3 separate regions of the Homo sapiens genome follow, and regions 1 and 3 are each linked to region 2. Evidence: promoter capture Hi-C in 16 types of primary human blood cells and fetal thymus (Javierre and others, 2016). All regions are on one chromosome and are shown on one strand. Each heading gives the region's core, a stretch centred on a gene start or on the middle of the fragment in contact. The rest is flanking DNA. Distances are from core to core; before and after follow the strand shown.

Region 1 (4,803 bases), core at 1,762-4,261, 270 kb before region 2:
AAGGGGCACACTAATCTCCCTGCAGCAACTGCTCAAGGAGGGATCTTCGTGGCTGTGGAGAACCAAGAGGCCTGGGCTTCTGGCTGCTACGTAACCGGTCCTTTGTTTTAAAATACTAAGTTCTCCTAAGTCATTTATTTGAAATATCTCTATCAACAAATTTCACCAAGAACAAAAGTTTTTCATTTGTGCACTGGGCTATAGGATGATCTTATCGCACACAATCTCATACAGTCTCTTTCAACAAGGTCTTAGCGTGCTTATCTGTGAAGTTCCTGGTAGCCAAATATGATTGAAATGTTCTATTTATGCTCACTGGATTAAGGAGATGTTGCAAAACTGCACAAAAACCTGGCAGATGTAAGCAAGGTATTACAGCCAGGGCAGTTAAGATCCGAGGGGAAGAGATCAATACATACTTTTGTAGTTTTTTCTTTTTCTTTTTCTTTTAAGAGACCAGAAAAGTTGTGCTTTTAGAAAAGGAAAAGGAAAAAATAGTAAAATGCTTTAAGATTTATAGCTTCTCTGAGCTTTTTCCAAACCCAAAACAGGGCACCATGATGCATGCTTGATGATGTCAGCCCAAGGGAAACAAAAATAAATCCAAAATATTCTCTCCAGATCCTAAAAGGCCCTATAAGGGAATTAAACTATGGTTATGGATGAACAGGGTTTTTGTTCTCCCTCTCCCGTACAAGGCTTTTAACCAGCACAAATAACCGATTTCTGGGAAAACAGTTTTCAAAAAGCTACAGACTTTTCCTTTATCTCCTTGTTCTGCCTGGATACATGCGAAGGAAATGTTGTCTCCTGGTTATCCAGGATCATTTTTATATGTTTCCACTCTAGCCAGGGAGACACAATGCTACCTTCAGATCCCATGGACCAGCCATGGAAACTCAGAGATTGTTGAGAATAACTGAGGTTTATTAAAGGCCTAAGAAGAAAGTTCCTCTGGAATTAAACCATTCTGAAAACCTTTTTAATGTATATTGCCTCATTCTTTCTGCTTTGGTACACTGAAAATTAAATTACTTTTCTATGAGGATTCTGAGCTGGAGAGCTATCACTCTAAACATCAATTATGAACACAAGATAAGAGACTGAACGGATTACCTGTACGGGTACCAAATCACATTGTAAACATTATTGTCATTTTAATGAAGAAAAAAAGCAAAAGCCAAACAGATATTAGCTTCCTTACTGGTTCTTTCTTCCTTTCTTCTAGAAAAATGCAAAAAAGAACATCTAGTCAACCCAGGTTTTGGTTTTTTTTTTTTTTTTTTGAGACAGAATCTCACTCTATCGCCCAGGCTGGAGTGCAGTGGCGTGATCTCGACTCACTGCAACCTCTGCCTCCCAGGTTCAGGCGATTCTCGTGCCTCAGCCTCCAGAGTAGCTGAGACTACAGGCATGAGCCACCATGCCCAGCTGATTTTTTTTTAATTTTTAGTAGAGCGGGGGTTTCACCGCATTGGCCAGGCTGTCTCCAACTCCTGACCTCAAGCGATCCACCCGCCTCGGCCTCCCAAAGTGCTGGAATTACAAGTATGAGCCACCGTGCCTAGCCCCAACTGAGGTTTTAATGATAAAGAAGGTAATGCATTTATAGATCATGTCTGACTTTGAAAGGGCTTCCTGAGGATCATCTCAACCACCCTGTGGCTGACATGGACAGTATAGAGCCCATTTTGTGGATGGAGAAAGTGAGGCCACATGACTTACTTGCCCCTATAAACAGGCAGACTTCGCCAGACTTCTCACCTCAGGGTCTGCCTTCATATTCCTACCTAAGCCAGAGTCTTTCCCTGAAAGGGGCAGGAAAACCAGCAGCTAAAAAGGAGTCACCGAGAGCATTCCTGGGATTTTCTCCATCTAATTGAATAGAAGCAAGAACAGAGAGGCCTCTAAGAAAAAAAGTAAATTGAATGATGGTACCCAGAGTCTACTGACAGGCTGTGGGTCTCGCAGGGACTTCATAACCTTCTACAGGGAAGGCAAGCCGACTCATGCCCCACTGCTACTCACCCTATATCTGTTAAGCGCCTACCGTATGCTGGACTCCAGTAAAGTCAGGCTGCTCCTGACCCACAGCCCTTCTAGGTAGGTTGTCCATCAACGCAATTTTCCATCATTGCATTTTGTTGATTTCCTTTATAACATTTAACACAATTTTCAGTTATATATTAGCTTTTTATTAGTATTCTTTATCTCTACTAGACTATAAGTTACATTAAGGCAGAAACCATCCACTATAACCTCAGAGTATGCCAGGGTGTGCTGTATAGAGTAAGTATTCAGTACACTTTTCTAAATAGCTTTACTGAGGTATTTTCCACGTACCACAAAATTTATCCTTGTCAAGTATACCATTCACTGGTTTGTAGCATATTCATAGAACTGTGCAACCATCATCACTATCAAATTCCAGAATATTTTCATCACCCTGAAAAGAAACCTCGTACTCATTAGCAGTCACTCTCCATTCCTCCCCTCAACCCCCAGCCTTTGGCAACCACATATGTACTATCTTCCTCTACAGATTTGCCTATTTTGAACATTTCATATAAATGGTATCATACAATATGCACCCTTTGGGGTCTGGCTTCTCTCACACAGCATGTTTTCAAGCTTCATTCCTATCATAGCTTGTATCAGTACTTTGTTCCTCTGTAGGGATATACCATACTTTGTTTATCCATTCATCAGCTGATGGACATTTGGTTGTTTTGACCTTTTGGCTATTACGAATAATGCTGCTATGAACATTTGTGTACAAGTTTTATGTGTGGACATATGTTTTCACTTCTCTTGGGTATATACCTAGGAGTGGAATTGCCAGCTCATATGGTAACTCTATGTTTAACCTTTTAAGGAACTGCCAGACTGTTTTCCAAAGCAGCTATACCATTTTACATTCCCATCAGCAATGTATGAGGTTTCCAATTTCTCAATACATTTTTGGACTAAGTGAATAAATGAATAAAGATTTCCTCTGCTGTAAAAGCCCCCCAAAAAGGGGATACAGTTCTGAGGCTTCTTTGGTAAACTAGCATCTTCATCTGCAGACATGACATGCTACACTCATATTTAACAGAAACCCCAAAGAATGCTATTTATATGTAGTTCCTTTTAGAGAATCAAGTGAAAAATGAAGAAAAGGAAAGAAAAACACCAGACAGCTCAAAGTGGGCACTCCTTTCACATATGTGATTTCAACCCCTACCCTCCAGCCCACGTCTAAACTCAATAATTTAATAATGCACCTTCCTTGAACAGATTTAGTTGAAAATATAAGAGGGATCCCAGCTCAACTGAAGCCAGCTTTGATTTGGTCAACAGTGAGGGAAACATGATTTGACAGCCCTTGCTGTCTCTGGTAGAAAGCTTGAAAATATACTTAATAATAATTAAAACATAAACGCATGAACAAAAATATCCCAGGCAAGCTCCAGGAGTGGGACCCACGGTGCTGGAACCTGCTGAGAAGACAGCCAAGGGCGAGAGCCTCTCTTCCTGGCCTTGTTAGAGTGGGCATGGTGTCCCACAGCAGGCTGCGGCAAGAAGCTCTGTTAAGGGCTCCCCAAACTTCTTTTTCTACCCCCTTTTCTTTTTTGTAAAAGAAGTCAGCCGTATTCCTTTCTACACAGACTCCTTGCAAAGAACAAACAAACAAAGGCTGGGACAGAGCAAGGCCCTTTGCAAGCTGCAGGTAATTAAAACGGCCTGTAAATGCCCCAGTAGAAAGCACTTCAAAGAGACAGTAATTCCAGCAATGGCCAGTCAAGGCTGTGTGGTGTGAAAATTATGAGTTTTCCCAACAGGGAGCTTTGTGTGAAAAGGACAGGGGTTGGTGGCAAAAGGAGGGTGAGCCACACGGACGAGGTTTACAATTGGTGTCCATGCCCAGTGTGCGTGGGAGTGTGTGTGTGTGTGTGTGTGTGTGTGTGTGTGTGTCTGGCAAACACACAGGCCAGAGAAAGGGGATTGTGTGCATGTTTGTGAGAGCACACATTTATCAATGCTGAGACGGTCCAAGCGTGTGGGCATGGAGATAAAAGGAAAAATAAAATAAAAGCAACAAATACGAATCCTCTTCCCTGCTGGGCCTCATTTTCATGGGGAAAAGCACCAGGCAGCTTGCGTGCTCCTCTTGCTCCTTACACGCAAGGCTCCCGAGCACACAGGAAATGCATAATACCAGTGACTCGAGGCCCAACGAGCACAGAGGCCAAGCAGCGGCTCTCTGGAAACATCCACACTTTCAGTCTCACGGTGCAACACAATACCCAACAACATACTGCATGCTATGTAATCTTGAAACAGAATGAAGAGATCGATTCTTAACCTTGACTCTGACTGCATTTGCTAAGCCACCTGTGCTACCCGCCTGGGTGCCCTGTGCTTAGATGATGCAGCGACGGTCCATGGCATGGAGGAGAAGAGAGGCTGGAGCCTCAATGCACAAGGACGTTGGCCCCACTCTTACAATACACTGACACACATCAGTGATCACCTGACCACAACATCACACATCTGGGATGGAGGGAGGACCTGTCACTAGCGTATTTTTTCTACATTTTTGTGTAATCTCCCTGCAGGAACCTGATACTTCCAAAAGGACATTTCACTAGGCAAGAGGGTCAGTACCATCCCTAGAAGCCTTCCCCAGTAGCTCCCCTCTGTCCCCTCTCAAAGCTGACCCCCTTTCCCCCCCAGCCTCTGTCTTTTAAGTGTGTTTCTGTTGGAGCAGATGTACTCACTAGGGTGCATCTGCTTGTTTCTCTGTCTCTCCAGCTGGAT
Region 2 (4,944 bases), core at 552-3,051:
TGCTGCTTCAGAGGCTGAGGCAGTTGGACTGCTTGAGCCCAGGAATTCAAGGCTGCAGTGAGCCATGATCTCACTACTGTATTTCAGTCTGGGTGACAGAGTGAGACCCTGTCTCAAAAAAAAAAAAAAAAAAAAAGAAAACCAGCATCAACCTGAAATCAACCTGTTCTACAGTGACACCCAGGTTGAGGCCATAAACACAGTCACTCATGAGGAAAGGAAAAATGGCAGAGCCACATACATAAAATGTCCTACTACTCGCAGACACAAACACAGTCAGCCTGTTGAATGTGGAAGATTCCAAGTTAGTATCACCGCAGCCATGCCAATCTGCCAGTTAATCTGCCAGGGGAAGCGGATCCCTGTATCTCCAGGTGGTGGAAGTTGCAGGAGTCCTAGTTCAGGCCTCAGAGAGTAATCTGGCCTCTCCTGGGAGCTGCACCTGACCTGTACCTGTTTCCTTTTGTCAAAAACTGCGCCCGCATGCAGACTAGGGAGGCCTGCAGGTGAAACATAACAATCCCAGCGACAACAATGCCAGGAGTATAGGAAAGGCCACCGTCCATGTTAAATTCACACTTAAAAGTGTAGCTTGAGAGTCAGACCAGACCAGGGCAAGGGTGTAGGTGCTACTCTTAAAAGACGCGCTTCCACACTCAGCCTCTACGCAGATTTGGGACACCCAGCAGCCTGTCAAGTGGGTTTGCCATCATAACACATTTGTATCTTAAATGTGAAACATGGTTCAGTAATCACAATTCCCACACAGTTGTTGAAAATACAATTCAGGCCTGGCGCGGTGGCTCACGCCTATAATCCCAGCATTATGGAAGGCCGAGACGGGCGGATCACCTGAGGTCAGGAATTCGAGGCCAGCCTGGGCAACATGGTGAAACCCTGGGTGTGGTACAGCGTGCCTGTAATCCCAGCTACTCAGGAGAATCGCTTGAACCCAGGAGGCGGAAGTTGCAGTGAGCCGAGACCGTGCGGCTGCACTCCAGCTTGAGGGGACAGAGTGAGACTCCGTCTCAAAAAAAAAGAAAAAAAAAAAAACAAACCGAAACCAACCAAACAAAAAACAATTCAATAGGAGCACCTGGTCTTTTAACATGAAATCGTAAATATCTGGCTCAAACGTAACAAAGTAACACAAAATTTTAGTTTGAACTTCTGAAAATCGAAAATGGAAAAACTGCAATTTTCCTTATCATGCCCAGGTTAAGAGCATCAGGGTTAAGGGCACCAAGCGGGACACCCATGAACGGAGGCTTTGGTCCGTTTGGTTAGCTTTAGACAAGCGACTGCATTCATCCTCCTTCTCTCCTTAAAGATGGTGAACACTTCTTCATGTCATTGGAGTTGGAAATGGCTACAAAGCCTGATGGGAAATCCTTTATTCCACGGTCATTCGGCAGTTTCCCACGGCGGGGGAACAGTTTTAACTCGCCCGTGGGGAGGGTGGAGCCGGAGGTCAGTCCTACAAATGAGGTTTTGAGGGCAGAGAGCGGAGAAGACTCAGGAACGCGGCTCCCAGGATTCGCAAACCCAGTTCCCGGACACTGGCAGCGCGGCCCGCAGCCTCCACCGGCTGTGAAGCTGACCAACAGCGACAGGCGGGGCCGGGATCACGTGACCGACGTCTGGTCAGCCGGGCGTGCGCGGGAGCACGCAGAACTGTTCGGCCCCGGGCCGCGCGCCTTGCGTGCGCGCGCATGCCGGGGGCGGGGCATGTGGGCCAAGCCTCCGGCGCGCGCTGCGGGCGGGGGCGGGACGGAGCGGGGTGGAGGGCGGGGGCGGGGCCTAGTCCTGAGAGGCTGGGCCGGCGGCGGCTGCGGCGGGAGACCGGTGACCCGCGGCTGGGCGCCTCGGCCATGACTGCGGAGCTGCAGCAGGACGACGCGGCCGGCGCGGCAGACGGCCACGGCTCGGTGGGCTCCGCGGCGGCGAGCGGGAGCTGGGGGCGGGCTCCAGGCCCTGAGGGGAGCGTGCGGGGCCTGCAGGGCTGCGGGTTGCGGGCTGCGGAGGGCGCCCCGGCCGGGCGGGACAGGGGGTGCGCCCGCCAGCGTGGGTGAGAAGGCCAAGGGCTCTGCGGGGCTCGGGCCGCGGAGATTGAGGACTGCATCTTCGCGTCCGTGGGCGAGCTGAAGTTGTAGGGGGATTTCCAGATTTTGGAAAACCAAATATAAAGGGCTGGACGTGGGGTTCTCCGCCGCAGGGATCAGTAAGGTGAGCCCTCCTGGGCCCCGTCCGGGGTGAGAAACTTCCGAAAGCGGCAGCGTTGGTTGGTTTTGTTTTGCTTTGACTTTTAAATCAGTTTTATGGCGGCGTTTTTAAAAGGTTAAAGCAGACCGAAGTTATCTCACTTAAAGTCCGGAATTAATCACCGTCTTCTATAAGACCAGGGGTCCCAGTTACCACCACTTCCCTCCCTCCCAACCCGGCTTTAAAAACAAAACAGCGCAGCCTCCCCAATTATTGCCTTCATCGCTCTAGATTTTTAAGGAGGGGGAGGAGCTGCGTGATGAATAGAAAGTCTACTGATGATGATCTCCTGTTCCCAATGTCTAAGAAGATTGAAATCAATATAAGGACTTCTGATCTAAGAATCTGGTGAGAGTGAAAGAACCCTGGTTTGAGAGAAAAGCTAATGTCTGTATGAAGAAACTTGGGAAGAGGGCAATTTGAGCATGTCTTCTAGTGTTACTTCGGAATGTTATAACTTAACACCACCTCCTCACCCCTCAAGTACTGCACTTTTTCAAGAGAAAACGGGAAATCTGTGCCAGTTGTTCAAATACGAGTTTGGAGATGAGAAACTATATTTGTCGTACAAAGCTGGCAGACAGATACCCTCAGGTGAGAATCCTTTTATACCTTTTTACTCTTTTGTCTGGAAGGCCAGTAGTATTTAGCATGGAGACACTTTTTTTTTTTTTTTTTTTTTTTTTTCGACAGAGTCTCCCTCTGTTGCCTAGGCTGGAGTGCTGTGGCGCGATGTCGGCTCACTGCATCCTCCGCCTCACCCTCCTGAGTAGCTGGTATTACAGGTGCTTGCCACCGGCCCGGCTAATTTTTGTATTTTTAGTAGAGTCGGGGTTTCACCATATTGGTCAGGCTGGTCTCAAACTCCCGACTTAAGGTGATTCGCCCGCCTCGGCCTTCCAGAGTGCTGGGATTACAGGCGTGAGCCACCGCGCCCAGTCTGGACGCACTTTTTTTTTTTTTTTTTTTCCAGACGGAGTCTCACTTTGTCGCCCAGGCTGGGGTGCAGTGGCGCGATCTCGGCTCACTGCAACTTCCGTCTCCCGGGTTCAAGCGATTCTCCTGCCTCAGCCTCCCGAGTAGCTGGGACTACAGGCGCGTGCCACCACGCCCAGCTAATTTTTGTATTTTTAGTAGAGATGGGATTTCACTGTGTTGGCCAGGATGGTCTCGGTCTCTTGACCTCATGATCCGCCCGCCTCGGCCTCCCAAAGTGCTGGGATTACAGGCGTGAACCAGGGCGCCCAGCCTGGATGCGCTTTTTAAAACTCATGTAGAAAAAGATACTTCCAGGTCCTGGGCTCCGAAACGAAAGTATCATGCACTGACTTCTAATGGAAATATTGTTAGATGTTCACAAGTGCCTATTGAAATGTGTCAAGATTTTTCTCTGGCTTCAGAGGTCAGTTCTATTTGTTTTTAGCACAGTGATTTAAAAACATGGGAAAATTTTAGTTTGGAGACTATCATATTGATTTAGAGAAGAGACTATTTTAAGGGAGAGAGAAGTCATATTTAAATTTGTCGTGGCTCAGTCATTTAAGACCATGTGCCTATTAATCAGTGGCATCTTCATTTACCTCTGCCGCAGTTTGAGTAGTGACCCTATTTCAGCATTCTCCGTTTGAGACTGTGTGTGAGCTACTTGATGAGCATTTGTATGTAAGTCATAGCTATTTTGGGAAGGCTTGGAACTCCAGTGGCTGTGGCTGGCTGGAGTACTCCGATTCCTGGCCACCTGCAGAGTGATGACATTTACTGTTCTTCCCAGTGATTTGCCCTATACGGAAAGCTGATAAGCTTGGAATGCTTGATAATGTTTGCCCCTTTTATTTTTGCTAATAAAATGCTTCAAGTTACCAGGATAGGTTGAAGGAACTTACAGGAAAAGTACCTTTTGATCTTACAGGAAAGATTTTAATAACTTCTTCCTCATCTTGGTAAGTTTCATGTTAGAATGGATTCTTTTATTTTGAACTCTCTGAGGCATTCTACCTTTCCCTTAAAGGATATTTCATTGTTCTAGTTGAGGAGAGCTATCCTTCCCTGACACTCAGAAGCTATTTAAAGCCTAGACTGCTTCCCTTCCCTTATTGGTCAGTTGTACACAGGACAGACAAAACCCTTTATGGCCTCCCAAGAATTTTAGTGCGAGAAATATGTAGTACTCTTGAAATATGCTATCAGTATGGACTCGAATCTGAGAGTAGACACTTTATGATTTCACTAAATCCTCTAGACTGCAAACTGGTATTCGAATATCTAAAGAGGTTACATAGTGACAGATTCCTGTATTTTAATCAATTCTTGACTTCGATAGCAGCAAAATTTACTGTTATTACAGGAGAAACAACTTGAAGTCAGTTTGGTTCTTATAAACCTGTCATTCTTGGCAGCTGTACTGAGGGTTCACATCACACATTCTTTATGTCAGCTGAAGCCTTATAAAAACCTGCCAGTTTCAGTGAAAATTTAATGCCCTTTTTGCTTTCTCTTGATTTATTGACCTTTCGTTTCCTTTTGTCTCATTAACTGATTTTTAAAACATCAGTAAGTCAGTGATTGGTTCCACAACTCTCATGCCCCTCTGCCCCCAAATGCAAACAGTATTTTTTTTTTTTTTTGAGACGGAGTCTCGCTCTGTTGCCCAGGCTGAAGTGCAGTGGCGCGATCTCTGCTCAC
Region 3 (4,330 bases), core at 213-2,712, 300 kb before region 2:
CAGCCAGAGTGGCTTGGAAAGCTCTTTTGTTACCCCTTTTAGCACCAGCGGGTAATCCAACAGGCTTAGAAACACTGTCCACAGCCAGAACACACACATGCACTCAATATTAAGCTGCACAGTAAGGTAGTGAAGAGCACGCTCTCTGGAATCAAACAAACTCTGGTTCAAGTCCCAGTTCTACCATGTCTAGCTACCACCCTGAAGAAGTGAATTATCTCTTCTGGGCCTGTTTCTTACCTAGAAAACTGGGCTCAGAGTGTTTATGCCACAGGGTTGGTTGAGGGATGATTAATTTAAATAATATATGTAAAGTGTTTAATACCCTGTCTGGCATACAATAATAGCCCAATAAATGCTAGTTGTCATTAAGACCAACATCATCATTGTCATCAGGAGATAAAATAATAGCAAGGTATAAGACACACACAAACATCAAATGCATGCAAGAGATATATCACGCAATTTAAAATATTCTTACCTCTCCAGCCAAAACACACCAGTAAAGATGGGGTCAGATCATTCTTCCCCAGGAGGAGATCAAGGAAATGACACCCCTACCGTCTGCTCCCATCATCACTCATGGCCAATGTTTAATGGTATTATTACCCTCCTACTGCCTACCCAGAAGGGAACCAGGGAATGCAAACCAGTTTGAGATGATTTATGTTTTTAAAAATACATGAGTGAATTATTTTAAATAAAATGCAAGTAGGATAGTAAATTTGTTGCAGATTTTTTAAAAATACAGGCCAGGTGCAATAGCTTGTGCCTGTAACCCCAGCCTGGGTGACGGAGTGATACTCTGTCTCCAAAAAAAATTACAAATATTCCTGAAGTCTAAGAGTAGTGACTCAGGGGTTCACCTTACCATTGCTTCTAATCTCTTTCTTCTCCTGGCAACTTCTATGACTGAGCAATCATGGTATTGTGGTAGTCAGCACAAGGGCACAAAATCTCTCTTACTACAGGAATGTCAGTCCCTGCTGTGATGAACCAGACTTCCTTCCAGACATGCTTTGCCAACTGAGAGATCTCTCGGAGGTTAACGGTCAGGCCCCCTCAAAATGAAGTCCCGGGCCGGGTGCGGTGGCTCATGCCTGTAATTACCCAGCACTTTGGCAGGCCGAGGCGGGCGGATCACCTGAGGTCTGGAGTTGGAGACCAGCCTGACCAACATGAAGAAGCCCCATCTCTACTAAAAATACAAAATTAGCCGGGCATGGTGGCACATGCCTGTAATCCCAGCTACTCGGGAGCCTGGGGCAGGAGAATCGCTAGAACCCCGGAGGCAGAGGTTGTGGTGAGCCGAGATCGCACCACTGCACTCCAGCCTGGCAACAGCAACAGCTCAAATCCAGAGACGGCTTTAAGGTTCTACCGGTACGGTACCAGCATCAACTTCGCAGCCTCACTTCCCTCCTGAAAATGTAGCTATTCATCCTCATATGATAGCTTAAACAAGAAACTATATGAAGTACCTGGCACATAGCAGGTGCTCAAGTCACAGTCATTATCATGATTATAGAATAATTTCACTTCATCAAGCTGATGAGCTCCAGGAGGACAGCTCCTGGCCACAGCCTACAGGGTATGCAGCCCATAGTATTTCCAGTCCCACAGCTCTGGGAGAAGCCCAATCGCAATAAGTAAATGGCCTGCATAAATGAGACACTATGTTCTCTAAGGCTCTCGTATACATGATATTATGCTATCTGGAATGGGAGACAGGACCACCCTTAGGTAAGACAGGGTAGATAACTGGCTCAAGGAGGGTTCTGCTGGCCAGCGCACCCAAGATTTTCCAAAGTACCAAAAGAAACTGACTTGCGGTCCTGACTGTCACTGCCTGAGCTGTGTAACCCTTGGTGAATCCCTTTATCTCTCCATCTTGAAATGACAAGTTTTAAACTGGGACATCTCTAAGGGAGAAAGGATGAACAGGTGTTCATGAGAAGCTGGGCGCTCATGGCAAAGAAAGTTAAACGTGGCCGTACACGAGAGCTCAAATGCATACAACCCTTGGTGTTTGGAAGGTGCTGTTGAGACCAAGCGAGGGCTGGGTTCCCCGGTTCAGCCAGCAGAATCCTTCTCAAGGTGAATATTCTGCTCTATCAGGCAGGTAGAATGGAACAGAGAGTCCAGACATTGGGAGAATCATTAGCCAGAGTCAGGCTGGGTCAGTGCGGCTGTGCCAAAGACTGACCCGAGTTCCAGGGAATACCTGGGCTTTCAAGTGTTCATAACTTTGTTTTGTTTAAGAGAGATAGATAGCTTTGCAACCTTGGCATTTGTGAGAGGCTGGATAATAAAGCCAGGGATATAAGAGTAAGGGTTTCTGCCATGATTTTATGGGACATCTCCGCAACTCCTAAACACCAACAATCACCCTCCTCCCAGGTCTCCCCTTGGGGATTCTCAGGAGAGAAGTTCAGAATGAAAAGAGAAGTTTCTGTTGGCCCCCAGCAGTCCCAAAGCTCAGCCTGTGATCTGAGCCTTCGGTCTCCTCTCATCCTCATCTATTCTGCTCCTTTCTTCTGAAGCAACTTCAGAATGCTCCGTCACAGGCCCCCACCCTAAATATGGCATGGAGGATTTCACACATACACACACACACACACACGCACGCACACACACACACACACACACACCCCTCTCCCCTGAGTAGGATTCACAATACTGGCTGGGCAATGGAAAAAAGAAGACTAAGACCCCTCCAAGGGTGGTGGCCGGGATCCAAGTGCCTACTCCACCCATTTCAAGCTGATAACCTGGCCCTGCCCCGGTCCCCCAGCATCTCCTGACACTCCTGCCAAATGACATACCTCATTGGAGGTATTTTAAAGGGAATAGGAGGCAGCATTCCTCAGTCTCGATGGCATTCTTGGCTTCCCTCACTTTCTCCAGGCTGGTCCCTGCCTCTCTCATTTCCCACTGACTGAAGAGAATGCCGAGTCCTCTCACAATGCTGAGATCTCTTTGGCATCTCAATATTGATAATTCCTTCATTGCTTGGGTCTCAGAATCCCCTGTCCTCTCCCAGCTACTCGGGAGGCTGAGGCAGGAGAATCATTTGAACCCGGGAGAGGAGGTTGCGTTGAGCTGAAATCACGCCACTGCACTCCAGCCTGGGCAACAGAAAGAGACTCTGTCTCCAAAAAAAAAAAAAGTTTGCACATGTATAAAATGGGGGGTAATCTTAGAGTTGTTGGGAGAATTAACTGGTATATTGCATGTAAAGTAGTTAGCACAATGCTTGCATCATAATGAATGGGCAACACATGTTATTAGTATTTTTATTGTGATGACTGTCAACACTATGGCAGCAGCAGCATTGTGACTCCTTATTGCAGGGCAGCCTTTGTAGGTTCCTTGGAAGGGAAGGAGTGAAAGTATTGGTGTTGTGTGCCTGTTGAGCTCCACTTTCTGTGCTGGGCACCTTCATGTGCATCATCTTGTTTAAACCTTCAACAACCTTACAGTCCCATTTCTGAGTGAGTGGTGTCACTGCTGTTGTGCAACTTTGAAGTCCTGCTTTTAGGATAGGAAGGATGTATCATCATCTCTTTAACAGGTGAAGAAACCAAGGCTCAGAGAGTTAAGCTGCTAACGCTCCTGATTTAGCTAGTGGGTAGCTGAGCTAACATCTCAGTTCTGTCAACATCCAGCCCAGGTTCTCCACTAAACTGCCTGTGATGGGAGCACGGGCCCAGCTTAGACAGCCTTCTATGCCTACTGAACCCTGCCTCTTCCCTGCAGCTTGACCTGGATGTCTTTGGGGTCTATGGCACGGCTTCCTGGTGGAGTTTCCAGGAAAAGAGAAGCTCTCATCTACAGGGCTTGTACAGCTTACAGCCAATTGTCAGCAGATAACTTGCATACAGAGCTCTGCCAATTGGTTTCTTGAAGAGTGCAATGATTATCACATTTGTGACAGCATCAGGAGCCTTCTAAAAGGCTTTATTTCTTTCATTTGTTGAAATATTACCTAGAGATGTTTTATCTTAGAAACAAAATACACACATACACACTACAAAGACAGTTGCAAGTGGCATTGGAGAGAGATGCTAGGAGGCTCATGCCACCACGCCCGGCTAATTGTTGTATTTTTAGCAGAGATGGAGTTTCACCATGTTAGGCAGGCTGGTCTCGAACTTCTGATCTCAGGTGATCCGCCCACCTTGGCTTCCCAGAGTACTGGGATTACAGGCAGGAGACACCATGCCTGGCCTTAGATATGCAAACTGAAGTTTAAAAAGCTTAGTTCTCTTGCCCAAGGTCTCATAGCTAGTAAACATAAAAGAAAAAAAAAAAAAACCTCAGTCAGAAT

The links. The method cuts DNA at HindIII sites, captures the fragments that hold promoters and counts their contacts. A CHiCAGO score of 5 or more calls a contact.
Region 1: a contact is called between a fragment that was not itself captured here and the fragment with the promoter of USP28 in region 2, in 2 of 17 cell types (total B cells and neutrophils). The highest score is 9.9, in total B cells.
Region 3: a contact is called between a fragment that was not itself captured here and the fragment with the promoter of USP28 in region 2, in 1 of 17 cell types (total B cells). The highest score is 5.2, in total B cells.

What each region holds. Positions count from the first base shown.
Region 1 is chr11:114,143,332-114,148,134 of GRCh38, reverse strand. All of the region lies in intron 2 of ZBTB16 (zinc finger and BTB domain containing 16), which reads right to left. Among named protein-coding and RNA genes, the nearest start is that of ZBTB16, 86 kb to the right of the region's middle. The HindIII fragment of the contact is 756 bases long and covers 2,634-3,389 here.
Region 2 is chr11:113,872,429-113,877,372 of GRCh38, reverse strand. It overlaps USP28 (ubiquitin specific peptidase 28), which reads left to right and starts at 1,801. Exons shown (of 26, transcript NM_001346252.4): 1 at 1,801-1,928. The coding sequence starts at 1,872. RefSeq lists enhancers at 581-1,242, 1,293-1,542, 1,532-1,826, 3,413-3,913 and silencers at 1,563-1,722, 1,743-2,102. The HindIII fragment of the contact is 13,869 bases long and covers 1-4,064 here.
Region 3 is chr11:114,174,300-114,178,629 of GRCh38, reverse strand. All of the region lies in intron 3 of ZBTB16 (zinc finger and BTB domain containing 16), which reads right to left. Among named protein-coding and RNA genes, the nearest start is that of ZBTB16, 120 kb to the right of the region's middle. The HindIII fragment of the contact is 5,598 bases long and covers 1-4,261 here.